2 separate regions of the Homo sapiens genome follow, and region 2 is linked to region 1. The links are contacts of gene promoters, found by promoter capture Hi-C in human tissues and cell types (Jung and others, 2019). All regions are on one chromosome and are shown on one strand. Each heading gives the region's core, a stretch centred on a gene start or on the middle of the fragment in contact. The rest is flanking DNA. Distances are from core to core; before and after follow the strand shown. Region 1 holds the start of MCL1 (MCL1 apoptosis regulator, BCL2 family member). Region 2 holds the start of CTXND2 (cortexin domain containing 2).

The links. The method cuts DNA at HindIII sites, captures the fragments that hold promoters and counts their contacts. A contact is called where the count stands out against the background at its distance.
Region 2: a fragment that was not itself captured here is called in contact with the fragment with the promoter of MCL1 in region 1 in 2 of the 25 tissues and cell types used here (dorsolateral prefrontal cortex and hippocampus).

What each region holds. Positions count from the first base shown.
Region 1 is chr1:150,576,215-150,583,830 of GRCh38, reverse strand. It overlaps MCL1 (MCL1 apoptosis regulator, BCL2 family member), which reads left to right and starts at 4,221. Exons shown (of 3, transcript NM_021960.5): 1 at 4,221-4,988; 2 at 5,340-5,587; 3 at 6,340-7,616. The coding sequence starts at 4,301. The coding sequence ends at 6,456. LOC107985203 (a long non-coding RNA gene) reads right to left here and starts at 4,001. Exons shown (of 3, transcript NR_186818.1): 1 at 3,612-4,001. RefSeq lists silencers at 3,911-4,250, 4,321-4,450 and enhancers at 4,024-4,318, 4,367-5,084, 5,085-5,803, 4,764-5,963. The HindIII fragment of the contact is 14,201 bases long and covers 1-7,286 here.
Region 2 is chr1:150,886,258-150,893,873 of GRCh38, reverse strand. CTXND2 (cortexin domain containing 2) reads right to left here and starts at 6,738. Exons shown (of 2, transcript NM_001384189.2): 1 at 6,561-6,738. It also overlaps a transcript of LOC107985204 not described here. RefSeq lists cis regulatory regions at 1,358, 2,237 and enhancers at 1,286-1,430, 2,165-2,309. The HindIII fragment of the contact is 3,962 bases long and covers 897-4,858 here.

The sequences.
Region 1 (7,616 bases), core at 2,972-5,471:
GGATCACAAGGTCAGGAGTTTGAGACCGGCCTGGCTAACATAGTGAAACCCTGTCTCTACTAAAAATACAAAAATTAGCCGGGCATGGTGGTGCGCACCTGTAGTCCCAGCTACTTGGGAGGCTGAGGCAGGAGAAACGGTTGAACCCAGGAGGTGGAGGTTGTGGTGAGCCGAGATTGTGCCACTCCACTCCAGCCTGGGCAACAGAGCAAGACTCCGTCTCAAAAAAAAAATAAGTAAAATAAAATAAAATAAAATGTATTTGAAACTGGGTGTGGTGGCTCATGCTTATAATCCCAGCTATTCAAGAGGCTCAGGTGGGAGGATCCCTTGAGGACAGGAGTTGTAGACCATCCTGGATAACATAGCAAGACTTTGTTACTTTCTTTCTTTTTTTTTTTTTGAGACAGAGTCTCGTTCTGTTGCCCAGGCTGGAGTGCAGTGGCACGATCTCGGCTCACTGAAAGCTCTGCCTCCCGGATTCATGCCATTCTCCTGCCTCAGCCTCCTGAGTAGCTGGGACTATAGGCACCCGCCACCATGCCCAGCTAATTTTTCGTATTTTTTTTTTAGTAGAGACGGGGTTTCACCGTGTTGGCCAGGATGGTCTTGATCTCCTGACCTCGTGATCTGCCCGCCTCAGCCTCCCAAAGTGCTGGGATTACAGGCGTGAGCCACCGTGCCCGACCAAGACTTGTTTCCTAACAAACAGGGCCAGTTGCAATGGCTCATGCCTATAATCCTAGCACTTTGGGAGGCCAAGGAGGGCAGATGGCTTGAGGCCAGGAGTTCGAGATTGGCCTGGACAACATGGTGAAACCCCATCTCTACAAAAAAACACAAAAATTAGCCAGGCATGGTGGTGCTGGCCTGTTGTCCCAGCTACTTGGGAAGCTGAGGTAGGAGTATCACTTTAGCTCAGGAGGTCAAGGTTGCAGTGAGCCGAGACTGCACCACTGCACTCCAGCCTGAGCAACATGGTGATACCCGTCTCAAAAAATAATAATAACAAATAATGAATAAATGCAATTTATTTTAAAGTGAAACTTGCATTTCCTTTTTTAGCCTCTGTACAAGGAAAAATCATTGCTCCTCCTATTTCCTCAATCTCTTTCCACTTTACCACCTGATAAAATTTTACTTTATAAAGCATGAGAGCAAAGCTACCTCCTCCATAACACTTTCCTCTAGCTCTCTCAGCCCAAAGTGAATTTCCCAACCTCTTAACTCCAAAATGAAGTTGTTAATGCCTTGTGTAGAGCATACATTCCATCTCACATTATGGTTAGTTGCTGTACAAGATTAGACATTCCTTAAATAGAGAAACTATTTCTTATTCACTATAACCACAAAATGCTCTATCCTTGCCACTCATACTATAAACCCCTATGGTTCTAGGTCCTGCCCAAAACATAAATGGGTGGTATGGACGCCGTATCACCTTACTAAACTGTGACATTTTGGGGATTAGGAACTTTTGGCCAAGAGGGAGACTCACGCCTATAATTCCAACACTTTATTTATTTATTTATTTTTGAGATGGCGTTTCGCTCTTGTTGTCCAGGCTGGAGTGCAATGGCGCACTCTCAGCTCACCGCAACCTCCGCCTCCCAGGTTCAAGCGATTCTCCCGCCTCAGCCTTCCAAGTAGCTGGGATTACAGGCACGTGCCACCACGGCCCGGCTAATTTTGTATTTTTAGTAGAGATGGAGTTTCTCCATGTTGGTTGGGCTGGTCTCAAACTCCTGACCTCAGATGATTCGCCCGCCTTGGCCTCCCAAAGTGCTGGGATTGCAGGTGTGAGCCACTGCGCCAGGCCTCATTATTATTATTATTTTTTTTGAGACCAAGTCTTGCTCTGTTGCCCAGGCTGGAGTGCAGTGGCACTATCTTGGCTCACCGCAACCTCCGTCTCTTGGGTTCAAGCAGTTCTCCTGTCTCAGCCTCCAGAGTAGCTGGTATTACAGATGCGCACCACCACACCCATCTAATTTTTGTGTTTTTAGTAGAGACAGGGTTTCGCCATGTTTCCCAGGCTGGTCTCAAACTCCTGGGCTCAAGCGATCCACCCACCTCAGCCTCCCAAAGTGCTGGGATTATTGGCATGAGGCACAGAGCCCGGTCTGTAATCCCAACACTTTGGGAGGCCAAGGTAGGAGGATCACCTGAGTCCAGGAGTTCAAGACCGGCCTGGGCAAAATAGTGATACCCCATCTCTACAAGAAATAAAAAAATTAGCCAAGTATAGGGGCATGCACCTGTGTTCCTCGCTACTCGCGAGGCTGTGGTGGGAGGATCACTTCAGCCCAGGAGGTTGAGGCAGCAATGAGCACTGATGGTGCCACTGCACTCCAGCCTGGGTGACAGGGCAAGACCTCATCTCAAAAAAATAAATAAAAAGTGAGCTTGCTCACCTTTCCTATGTCTCTCAGCACCTTGCTTTTGAATTTTAGCTATTATTTTTACAGATCTTTTAACAAAAAGGCTGCTTTAATTAACGTTAACTAACATACATGGCATATAAGAAGATCCTTGTTCTCAAGGGCTTTACAAACCTCTAGAGTCAAATGTGCCTTATTATCAGTACAAAAATAAATGGTGTCAGCTGGGTGCAGTGACTCACACCTGTAATCCCAGCACTTTAAGAGGCTGAGGCAGGTGGATCACCTGAGGCCAGGAGTTTGAGACCAGCCTGGCCAACATGGTGAAACCACATTGTCAGGCCTCTGAGCCCAAGCCAAGCCATCGCATCCCCTGTGACTTGCACGTATACATCCAGATGGCCTGAAGTAACTGAAGATCCACAAAAGAAGTAAAAATAGCCTTAACTGATGACATTCCACCATTGTGATTTGTTTCTGCCCCACCCGAACTGATCAATGTACTTTGTAATCTCCCCCACCCTTAAGAAGGTTCTTTGTAATTCTCCCCACCCTTGAGAATGTACTTTGTGAGATCCACCCCTGCCCACAAAACATTGCTCTCAACTTCACCACCTATCCCAAAACCTGTAAGAACTAATGATAATCCATCACCCTTTGCTGACTCTCTTTTCGGACTCAGCCCGCCTGCACCCAGGTGAAATAAACAGCCATGTTGCTCACACAAAGCCTGTTTGGTGGTGTCTTCACACAGACGCGCATGAAACACATCTCTACTAAAAATACAATAATCAGCTGGGCGAGGTGGCTCACAGCTGTAATCTCAGCACTTTGGGAGGCCGAGACAGGCAGGTCACTTGAGGCCATGAGTTCGAGACCAGCCTGGCCAACATCGTGAAAACCCCATCTCTACCAAAAATACAAAAACTAGCCAGATGTGGTGGCGCACGCCTGTAATCCCAGCTACTCGGGAGGCTGAGGTACCGAATCGTCTGAACGTGGGAAGTGGAGCTTGTAGTGAGCCGAGATCGCCCCACTGCACTCCAGCCTGGGCAACAGAGCTAGACTGTCTCAAAACAAACAAAAAATGGTGTCAAGACTCTCAGACGAGATTCTAATGGATTAAGGCCTATATGTAAATAGCACCAAAGACTATGGAACAGAGATGGGAGAAGCAAGCAGGGAGGCAGGAATAGTTTAGCTGTGGCAGTTTTAGCTTAGTCCACTTACATAAATGGTTCTTTAGGGTAGCACGTGGAGCATCCTCATTTCCAAACATTGGACTGAGAGTAGAGAGCTGTGCAAAATAACCACAAGTCCCCAACTATGCCCTCTTAATTATCCCTATCATCTAAGACTGTTGTTCCCATCCATCACTGAACTTCCCCGTCCTCTTCCTTCAACCCCTGTGTTAGTCAATGGTTGAAATTTTGATTTGGTAAAAAACCTCTGGCGAAAACCAGCAAAAAGGGCTCACAAATCAGGTCTCAGGGAAGCACAGAGGTAGCCACGAGAAGGCCCGAGGTGCTCATGGAAAGAGCTCGAGCCCAGGAGCTCTGGGAGGACCCCAGGCGCTCGGAGCCGCCGTTACGTAACCGGCACTCAGAGCCTCCGAAGACCGGAAGGCCCCGCTCAGGCCCCGGCTCAGGCCCCGGCCCCGGCCCCGGCCCCGGCCCCGCCCCGGCCCGGCCGGGCAGCTGGTAGGTGCCGTGCGCAACCCTCCGGAAGCTGCCGCCCCTTTCCCCTTTTATGGGAATACTTTTTTTAAAAAAAAAGAGTTCGCTGGCGCCACCCCGTAGGACTGGCCGCCCTAAAACCGTGATAAAGGAGCTGCTCGCCACTTCTCACTTCCGCTTCCTTCCAGTAAGGAGTCGGGGTCTTCCCCAGTTTTCTCAGCCAGGCGGCGGCGGCGACTGGCAATGTTTGGCCTCAAAAGAAACGCGGTAATCGGACTCAACCTCTACTGTGGGGGGGCCGGCTTGGGGGCCGGCAGCGGCGGCGCCACCCGCCCGGGAGGGCGACTTTTGGCTACGGAGAAGGAGGCCTCGGCCCGGCGAGAGATAGGGGGAGGGGAGGCCGGCGCGGTGATTGGCGGAAGCGCCGGCGCAAGCCCCCCGTCCACCCTCACGCCAGACTCCCGGAGGGTCGCGCGGCCGCCGCCCATTGGCGCCGAGGTCCCCGACGTCACCGCGACCCCCGCGAGGCTGCTTTTCTTCGCGCCCACCCGCCGCGCGGCGCCGCTTGAGGAGATGGAAGCCCCGGCCGCTGACGCCATCATGTCGCCCGAAGAGGAGCTGGACGGGTACGAGCCGGAGCCTCTCGGGAAGCGGCCGGCTGTCCTGCCGCTGCTGGAGTTGGTCGGGGAATCTGGTAATAACACCAGTACGGACGGGTCACTACCCTCGACGCCGCCGCCAGCAGAGGAGGAGGAGGACGAGTTGTACCGGCAGTCGCTGGAGATTATCTCTCGGTACCTTCGGGAGCAGGCCACCGGCGCCAAGGACACAAAGCCAATGGGCAGGTCTGGGGCCACCAGCAGGAAGGCGCTGGAGACCTTACGACGGGTTGGGGATGGCGTGCAGCGCAACCACGAGACGGCCTTCCAAGGTAAGGGGGTTCATTAATCGCCAAGGCCTCACTCCCTTTTTTCCATCTCTCCCCGGACTCACCCGCCAAGGGTGGGTTGGAAACCGAAACGAGTCAGTGTTGAAACGTGTCTCATCCTATTCCTGAAGCCAGAATATTCTGGCCATGAGTCATTGTTTCCGCCCATCTTGATTCTTTTGGAAATGGCAGCTCTTGTTCAAAGACCGGAAAGGGTGGGATGTCAATTTCAAGTGGGGTCAACCTGAGTTCTGTAAATCCCAGTAGCGATTTTCCCGCCGCGGGTGGGCAGGCGAATCTTGCGCCGGTTTAGACAAAGGAGGCCGTGAGGACCTGCATGCTTTTCTTTCTCAGGCATGCTTCGGAAACTGGACATCAAAAACGAAGACGATGTGAAATCGTTGTCTCGAGTGATGATCCATGTTTTCAGCGACGGCGTAACAAACTGGGGCAGGATTGTGACTCTCATTTCTTTTGGTGCCTTTGTGGCTAAACACTTGAAGACCATAAACCAAGAAAGCTGCATCGAACCATTAGCAGAAAGTATCACAGACGTTCTCGTAAGGACAAAACGGGACTGGCTAGTTAAACAAAGAGGCTGGGTAAGTTTGCCTTAAGGATGAAAGGGGCCTTGGAGTGGAAGTAGAATGAAGGATTTTTTTTAGAGAGGTGGGGATATCTAAAGGTTTTTATGACGCACGGCTGTTTGCAGGCTCTAACTAAAGGACCATTGTTTATTTGATGTTGATTTAAGTAGTGGATCCTTAGAGATAGTGGTATGGCGGTCTTGAATTGTATCAAAAATCTTGGTTTTCTCTAGGCAATTTTTTGTTCCAATTCAGTTGAATACTCTTCAGTGGATTCAAACCATGAAAAAATAAGTCACCAGGGGAGGATAGCTGAAATAATTCCTAAGGCGGTGCCTGTTTTAATGGAGAAGATATGGGGTGGAGCCTGCGTTTTAAACAAACCCAGATCTGATGCAGGATGTACTTAACTACGTTGAGAAAAACTGATCTGCGCAATTGAGGCGTTACTGAAATATTAGGTGGTGGAGATTTGAGAATAAGGGTTTTCGTCTTTTACCTCATGGGAACTCTGGAAGTCCTTTTGTTAGGATAAATCCTAATAAGACCAAGATAGTACTGTAAAATGAAGTTTAATTATCATGGGTCCCCGCTTAAGAAACTGAAGAACTTATTTTCTTTTTTTGCCCCGGGGTGAATAATAATTGGTTTACTATTGCTTTAGGGGGAAACCTTAGATATTTTAATTTACCTTCTCTCTGGATAGTAGTGTTGTAAGAGAGCAGAAACCCATACTTGAAAATGTGCTTTTCTTTTTTGTTTTCTAGGATGGGTTTGTGGAGTTCTTCCATGTAGAGGACCTAGAAGGTGGCATCAGGAATGTGCTGCTGGCTTTTGCAGGTGTTGCTGGAGTAGGAGCTGGTTTGGCATATCTAATAAGATAGCCTTACTGTAAGTGCAATAGTTGACTTTTAACCAACCACCACCACCACCAAAACCAGTTTATGCAGTTGGACTCCAAGCTGTAACTTCCTAGAGTTGCACCCTAGCAACCTAGCCAGAAAAGCAAGTGGCAAGAGGATTATGGCTAACAAGAATAAATACATGGGAAGAGTGCTCCCCATTGATTGAAGAGTCACTGTCTGAAAGAAGCAAAGTTCAGTTTCAGCAACAAACAAACTTTGTTTGGGAAGCTATGGAGGAGGACTTTTAGATTTAGTGAAGATGGTAGGGTGGAAAGACTTAATTTCCTTGTTGAGAACAGGAAAGTGGCCAGTAGCCAGGCAAGTCATAGAATTGATTACCCGCCGAATTCATTAATTTACTGTAGTGTTAAGAGAAGCACTAAGAATGCCAGTGACCTGTGTAAAAGTTACAAGTAATAGAACTATGACTGTAAGCCTCAGTACTGTACAAGGGAAGCTTTTCCTCTCTCTAATTAGCTTTCCCAGTATACTTCTTAGAAAGTCCAAGTGTTCAGGACTTTTATACCTGTTATACTTTGGCTTGGTTTCCATGATTCTTACTTTATTAGCCTAGTTTATCACCAATAATACTTGACGGAAGGCTCAGTAATTAGTTATGAATATGGATATCCTCAATTCTTAAGACAGCTTGTAAATGTATTTGTAAAAATTGTATATATTTTTACAGAAAGTCTATTTCTTTGAAACGAAGGAAGTATCGAATTTACATTAGTTTTTTTCATACCCTTTTGAACTTTGCAACTTCCGTAATTAGGAACCTGTTTCTTACAGCTTTTCTATGCTAAACTTTGTTCTGTTCAGTTCTAGAGTGTATACAGAACGAATTGATGTGTAACTGTATGCAGACTGGTTGTAGTGGAACAAATCTGATAACTATGCAGGTTTAAATTTTCTTATCTGATTTTGGTAAGTATTCCTTAGGTTTTTCTTTGAAAACCTGGGATTGAGAGGTTGATGAATGGAAATTCTTTCACTTCATTATATGCAAGTTTTCAATAATTAGGTCTAAGTGGAGTTTTAAGGTTACTGATGACTTACAAATAATGGGCTCTGATTGGGCAATACTCATTTGAGTTCCTTCCATTTGACCTAATTTAACTGGTGAAATTTAAAGTGAA
Region 2 (7,616 bases), core at 1,628-4,127, 310 kb before region 1:
TGCAATCAGACCTTGGTGATGACCTTGAGCAGTAGGACATAAATAACCCCCACATGCTTAGGGTTCCAATAATGGAACACTAGGCATAAGTGGGGGTATCCATAAAAAATGTATAGGCTGGGTATGGTGGCTCATACCTGTAATCCCAGCATTTTGGGAGGCTGAGGCAGCAGGATTGCTTGAGGCTAGGAGTTTGAGACCAGCCGGGGCAACATAGTGAGACCCGTCTCTCTAAAAAAATTTAAAAATTAGCCAGGCAAGATGGTGCATGTCTGTACTTCCAGCTACTCAGGAGGCTGAAGTGGGATGATCACTTGAAGCCCGGAGATCAAGGCCATAGTGAACCATGATAGCATCACTGTCTTCCAGCCTGGGTGACAGAGTGACAGCCTGTCCAAACAACAACAAAAAAAACTATAGCAAACCTACTACTTAATGGGCAACAGTTGAAAGATTTTCCTTTTAAAATCAGGAACCAGACAAAAATGTTCACTATATTAACTTTTATGTAACATAATTCTGGAAGTCCTAGCCAGTGCAGTAAGATAAGATGAAAAAAAATGGATTGAAAAAGAAGAAAACAAAAGTTTACTATTCACAGACGTCATTGCCCGCAGATGAGTCTAAAGAAAAATGTGAGATAATTAGAGCTTAGCAAGGTGGCTGGATAAGATACATAAGTCAATTATATTTCTAAATACCAGCAACACACAAGAAAATGTAATTTTTAAAAAAGCATCATTTACAATGGCATTAAAAATACGTAAGATATTTAAAAATAAGTTTAACAAAAGTTGACTAGGACCAGTTTGGAAACAATTACCAAACTTTACTGATAGTCGTTAAAGAACACTTAAGTAAATGAAGGGATATACTATGTTTGTGGATTCAGCATAGTAGTTAGTTCTTCCCAGATTGATCTATGGATACAATGCAACTCCACCAAAATCCCATCAGGATTTTTTGAGAAAACTGACAAATCAATTTTCTTAAACGTATGAAGGAACTCAAAGGCTCAAGGATAGAGAAGATAGAAGCCAGGCATGGTGGCTCATGCCCGTAGTCCTAGCACTTTGGGAGGTTGAGGCTGACAGATCTCCTGAGGTCAGGAGTTCAAGACCAGCCTGAGCAACATGGTAAAACCCCATCTCTACAAAAACTACAAAAATTAGCTGGGCCTGGTGGTGGGCACCTGTAGTCCCAGCTACTTGGGAGGCTGCGGTGGGAGGATCTCTTAAGCCAGGGAGGTTCAGGCTGCAGTGAGCCGAGTTCATTTCATACCACTGCAATCCAGGCTGGATGATAAAGCGAGGCCCTGTCTCAATAAAAAAAAAAAAAAAAAAAAGAAGAAGAAGAATAAGACATTCTGAAGAAAAAGAATAGGGTAGAGAGATTTTCCTTATCAGCAATCAAGGTTTATTATAAAGCTATAGGGTTTATGACAACGGGGTAGGTATGTGGGCATAGATACCCCTAGAGAGCCCAGAGGCAAATCACACATTTACAGAAACTTGAATTATAACACAGTGGGTATTGTTGGTCACAGGAAAAGCATGAACTATTCAATAAGATACTGGAAAATAGGATATTTATTTTAAAAATTGCATTTAGTTATATGTAAAAGGAAAACTTGAAAACCTTTAGAAGAAAATATGACATATCTTTATGACTTCAGGCACATATTTTCTCATTATTCATCATTACATTCCTCAAAAAGGACATCTTGTTTTACCCTGGCACTTGCAGATCTCACTAGACTTATTCAGCCTGAATATTTTATTAATTTTCCACCTTCTCTCAATTAGTGCATTTCAAGAGACTTCCATCTTTCTTTGATTTCCTTTCATTTATTCTCCTTATCACAAATTTCTAGTATAATTTTATACTAAGTAAACTGTCTGAATCTTATAAAGTTAAAGAGAAAAATAAAAAAATCTGTACTTCCTGAAAGCAAATAATTCCAAAGCAATTTGCTGGGTAAAGTGGGAAAGAAGCCCAAAGGGAAGAATCAAGGGAGATTTTACTGAAGAGGCCAACACATGAATTGAATTGAGGGCTAAGAATGAGTTTATCTGGCAGCTAAAAGTGGGAAAGGGGAGAAGGAAAGAAGATATTCCAGGTAAAGATATGAAGGTTTAAGGGAGGACAATATAGTATGTTTGAGAAACAGCAATTGTTCAGTAAGACTTTGAGATATATTTTACTGAATAGATAGGATTGGTAGCAAAGGCAGCTCACAAGGGACCTTGTGTTGCAGATTAAACACTCAGGACTCAGCTTTGTAATCAGTGGGGAGCCATTGGAAAGCTTGTAAACATGAAAATTACATCATTAGATGTTTGTGTTAGAAATATCAGATAAGGCCGGGTGCAGTGGCTCACGCCTGTAATCCCAGCACTTTGGGAGGCCGAGGCAGGCAGATCACGAGGTCAGGAGATGGAGACCATCCTGGCTAACACAGTGAAACCCTGTCTCTACTAAAAATATGAAAAATTAGCCAGGCATGGTGGCGGGTGCCTGTAGTCCTAGCTACTCGGGAGGCTGAGGCAGGAGAATGGTGTGAACCCAAGAGGCGGAGGTTGTAGTGAGCTGAGATCTGCCACTGCACTCCAGCCTGGGCGACAGAGCGAGACTCCGTCTCACAAAAAAAGAAAAAAAAAAAGAAAGAAAAGAAATATCAGATAGGCAGGAATGTGTAGCGTACATGAGGCAAGAATTAACCTGATATTCTTCTATCAATATGAGTTTCTACAGGGCAAACGTCCATTTCCTGTAGGAAATGTTTGTCAATGTGGAAACTCCAATGTCAGAAGGAACATGCTGCTTCTCTTGGGTGTAGGGTATGAACAGTACAACCTTCATCGATTAATAAACTCAGCTGGGAGTGGTATTAGTTATAGAAGTCTTTGTAGAGGTGATGGCTGAGCTCTATTTGGAACAAGAAAAGAGCACTCCAAATAAAGGAATAGTGATGGAGACAGGAAGCATTGAAGCTTTCTGGAAAATGATGCTTAATTTAATATTGCAGAACTCACAATGCATGAAAGTGAAGGGTATAAAATTTCACATTGGGCCAGGCGCGGTGGCTCTCGTCTGTAATCCCAGCACTTTGGGGTGCCGAGGCGGGTGGATCACCTGAGGTTGGGAGTTCAAGACCAGTCTAACCAACATGGAGAAACCCCGTCTCTACTAAAAATACAAAATTAGCCAGGCGTGGTGGCACATGCCTGTAATGTCAGCCACTTGGGAGGCTGAGGCAGGATAATCGCTTGAACCCGGGAGGCAGAGGTTGCAGTGAGACAAGAACGTACCGTTGCACTCCAGCCTGTGCAACAAGAGCAAAATTCCATCTCAATAAATAAATAAATAAATAAATAAAATCTCACATTGGAAGGAAACTTTAAAGGTCATCTTGTACCACCTTCTAATCATTCCTGTAAAGCCCCTGCTTGAGCTCCTTGTGTGACAGGGGCTGGGCACTGACTGTCTCCTGGCTGTCTATCTATTTCAGAAGGTTCTGGAAGGCAGTAATTTTTTACCTTGAGCCAAATCTGTCTTCTTAGTACAGCTTCACTTTTTACTTAGGACTGTTTAAGGCAACACATATCTTTTCCATACACAAGAGTTTCAGTAATTTAAAAATAGCTATTAAGTACGTTTGATTGGTTTCTCAGAGGATGTGGTCTACCACTCTACCCTTTTTCTACTGAAGATTTTCTAGTGTGTCTATATTCCTTTTAAAATGTGGTGCCCAATACAGAATACAAGATGCATGCAAACTCAAGATTATTCATCTAGATACTATACTTCTGTTGCTTAAGACAGGACCATACTGAACCTTGAAAGTCAGGGCAAGGACTTTGAATTTTGTTCTTTCAGGTATCGGGAAGCAATGGAAGGTTTTGAGCAGATAAACATTTTGGGAGCAGGGGCCATATCTTACTGTGTATCCCATTGATTCTAACTAGAATGTAAGCTCTAGGTGTCTGTCCCATTCATAGCATGGATTCAGTGCCTGGGGAGGGCTGGCATATTTTATGTATTTAATACGTCTACATGAATGAATTAATATGAATCTCTATCGGTGTCTGGCACATAGTGCATACAACAGTTCATACTTGTTGAATTCAGGCAGGTAAATGATCAAAGCCATACTTCAGGAAGATAACTGGCAAGAGTGCGTAAAAAGTATTGGAGCTAACACACACTATAGGGTGAAAACAACAAGAGGAGTTTTAGCAGTCTCAACAAGGGGAAACAAGGGCTAGGATAACACAGTGAGTAACAGAAAGGAAAGAATGGATGTGAGATTGTGAAAGAGAATTTGTGACGACCTGGAAATTAAGTGGACATGTAGTGGGAAGAAGAAGGAAGTGATAAAGAAAACTCCTGGGCTTAAATTTGGAAAGCTGAAAGAAAAATGATGCCATTCATAGAATTATTTATTTTAGGAGTTGCTTTTTTTTTTTTTTTTGAGACAGAGTCTTGCTGTGTCGCCCAGGCTGGAGTGCAGTGGTGCGATCTCGGCTCACTGCAAGCTCTGTCTCCCGGGTTCACGCCATTCTCCTGCCTCAGCCTCCCGAGTAGCTGGGACTACAGGTGCCCGCTGCCACGCCCGGCTAAGTTTTTGTAGAGACGGGGTCTCATCCTGTTAGCCAGGATGGTCTCGATCTCCTGACCTCGTGATCCGCCCGCTTCGGCTTCCCAGAGTGCTGGGATTACAGGCGTGAGCCACTGCACCCAGAGGAGTGGCAGATATTTTAAGGTACTAGGATGAAATCAGTCTGAGGTAGGCTGAATTTAAATGCACTGATACAATATGCTCAGGAGGCTAAAATGTGGGACTGGAATTCAGAAGTAGAGTGAGATCGGCTAGGCACGGTGATTCATTCCTATAATCCCAGCCCTTTGAGAGGCTGAGGCGGGTGGATTGCTTGAGCCCAGGAATTCGAGACCAGTCTGGGCAACATAGCAAGACCCCATCTCTACAAAAAAACAAAAACAAAATCAAATTAGCCTGGCGTGGTGGCACGCACCTATAGTCCCTCCCAGCTACTCAGGAGGCTGATGTGAGAGGATCGATTGAGCCCAGGAGGTCAAGGATGCAGTAAGCCATGATCGCACCACTGCACTCCAGCCTGGGTGACAAAGCAAGCCCCTGTCTAAATAAATAAATAAATAAATAATAAAATACATTCTTATTAGAAAGGAAAATGCTGTTTTGTTTCTAAGTATGCCATGTATATTTTTTACTCATTTTCATATGCAGTGATCCAGATTTTGTATGGCCTAAAATTTATACAACATGGGGGTCTCTCTTTAAGGAAAGAATAAAAGATTTAAAATACAAAATTAGGGCCAGGTGCAGTGGCTCACCCCTGTAATCCCAACACTTTGGGAGGCCGAGGTCGCGGGGGATCACCTTCGGTCAGGAGTTCGAGACCAGCCTGGCCAACATGGTGAAACCCTGTCTCTACTAAAAAGTACAAAAAATTAGCCAGGCATGGTGGTGCACGCCTGTAGTCCCAGCTACTCGGGAGGCTGAGGCAGGAGAATTGCTTGAACCTGGGAGGCAGAGGTTGTATTGAGCCAAGATCGCGCCACTGCACTCCAGCCTAGGCGGCAGAGTGAGACTGTCTCAAAAAAAAAAAAAATAAATTAGGTAAAATGTTTTCAAAATGGGGGGAAAAGTCACAACAAATTTAATTCTTATGCAAAATAGCTTTTCTTGAGAAATACACTTTCAAAAATGGTAGAGCTAAAATCTGTTTTCCAAAGGGAATACCTGTCTTAGAATTTTTTTTAAGTGGCTTTTAAGGTTCTTGTTTTGTTTGAGATGAGTAGCAGCACTTCTTGGGATTATAGTAGGAGAAAGGAGGTGTGGTGTGAAGCTATTGGTTTATGTTAAATTTGGACCTACTAAAGTAAGAATCAGAATAATGGCATTTACAAATCCTTGGCAACATCAATTCCACTTTCAGTTCCAGAAAGATCCATTACCTTTTCCTTTCTCTGTGTTCCTTTTCCAGATCACTTCATTCTTCCCACCTGCAATGACCTGCCATTCTTGAAGAAGACCAAAATACTAAAAAGACCCAGTTTTTCTCTCCTGGCCATAAGTTTAGTGCAAAGAGAGAGATGATGGTGAAGAAACACAATAATGCAGCTTTTTTTTACTATAATCCTTAAAATCAAAGACACTCTCTGGCTAATAGGACTAATCAGAGGTCCCCCCAACTTTCCTCAAAAAGAGACTATGCTCAAGACATCCCTTCTCAGATGAAAGTTTAACTTTTCGTAAAAAGCTCTAACGAAAAAGGTCTTGGGCTGAGACAGACGGGTTGCTTGAGACCAGGAGTTTGAGTTCAGTCTGGGCAACATAGCAAGATCCTGCCTCTAAAAATAATAATAATAATAATAATAATAAAGCTCTTTACTTCCTTCAGTCATTTCCCCACGATTTCCCAAGTTCATAGCAAGGTGCTATTAAACTCAGAAGAATTCTTGGAATTTCTCCCAGTGAAAACTCCACCAGGAAGGCAATGTGGGTAGTTACCTACCTTCTGAGAGCGGATATCCAAGGCTACATTCACTTGTTGCCAGGGCAGTCTCCTCCTACTCAAGTACATCTCTTGGCAGCCTCTGTTTTTATCAACCTCTTCCCACAAAAGGAGAGTGGTTGGTAGCTCTCTCCCTTCCCCACTCCCACGCTGAACTCAGAAGCTTCATGAATAGTTCAATTGAAACAGGATCAAGTTTCAGACACTCCCATACTGAGAAAATGATCCCACTAGATTAAATTGGAGCCTAGATCAGTGGAGGAATATTTCCACAACTCTGCCAGGGCCAGGACAGCCACCATTAAAAGCTCAGGTAAAAATTTCTTTCTTTTCTTTTTTTTTTTTTGAGATGGTGTCTCGCTCTGTTGCCCAGGCTGGAGTGCAGTGGTGCAATCTTGGCTCACTGCAACCTCTGCCTCCCGGGTTCAAGAGATCTTCTGCCTCAGCCTCCAAGTAGCTGGGACTACAGGTGCATGCCACCATGCCCAGCTAATTTTTGTATTTTTAGTAGAGATGGGGTTTCACCATATTGGCCAGGCTGGTCTCAAACTCCTGACCTTGTGTTCCACCCCTCTCAGCCTCCCAAAGTGCTGGGATTACAGGCGTGAGCCACTACGCCCCGCCTCAGGTAAAAACTTCTAAGTAGGATCACATGAGTGGTAGAGGATGGATTGGTAGCCAACTTTTTGGTCTATGCAACAGGTCTCTGAATTACAGCATCTCCCAGGGACTTGCTAGAAATGCAAACTCTTGGACCCTTATCCTGGTCCTAATGAATAAGAAATTTTGGGGGTGTTGGCCTGTGTGTGTGTGTGTGTGTGTGTGTGTGTGTGTGTGTGTATTTAAGAGATGGGGTCTATGTTGCCCAGGCTGGAGTGCAGTGGCTATTCATAGGTGAATCACAGTGCACTACAGCCTCAAACTCCTGGGCTCAAGTGATCCTCCTGCCTCAGCCTCCCCAGTAGCCGGGACTACAGGCATGCACCACCACTTCCTGTGGCATTTGTGTTTTAACCAGCTTCTCTAGGTGATTGTGATGTATGCTTAAGTTTGGGA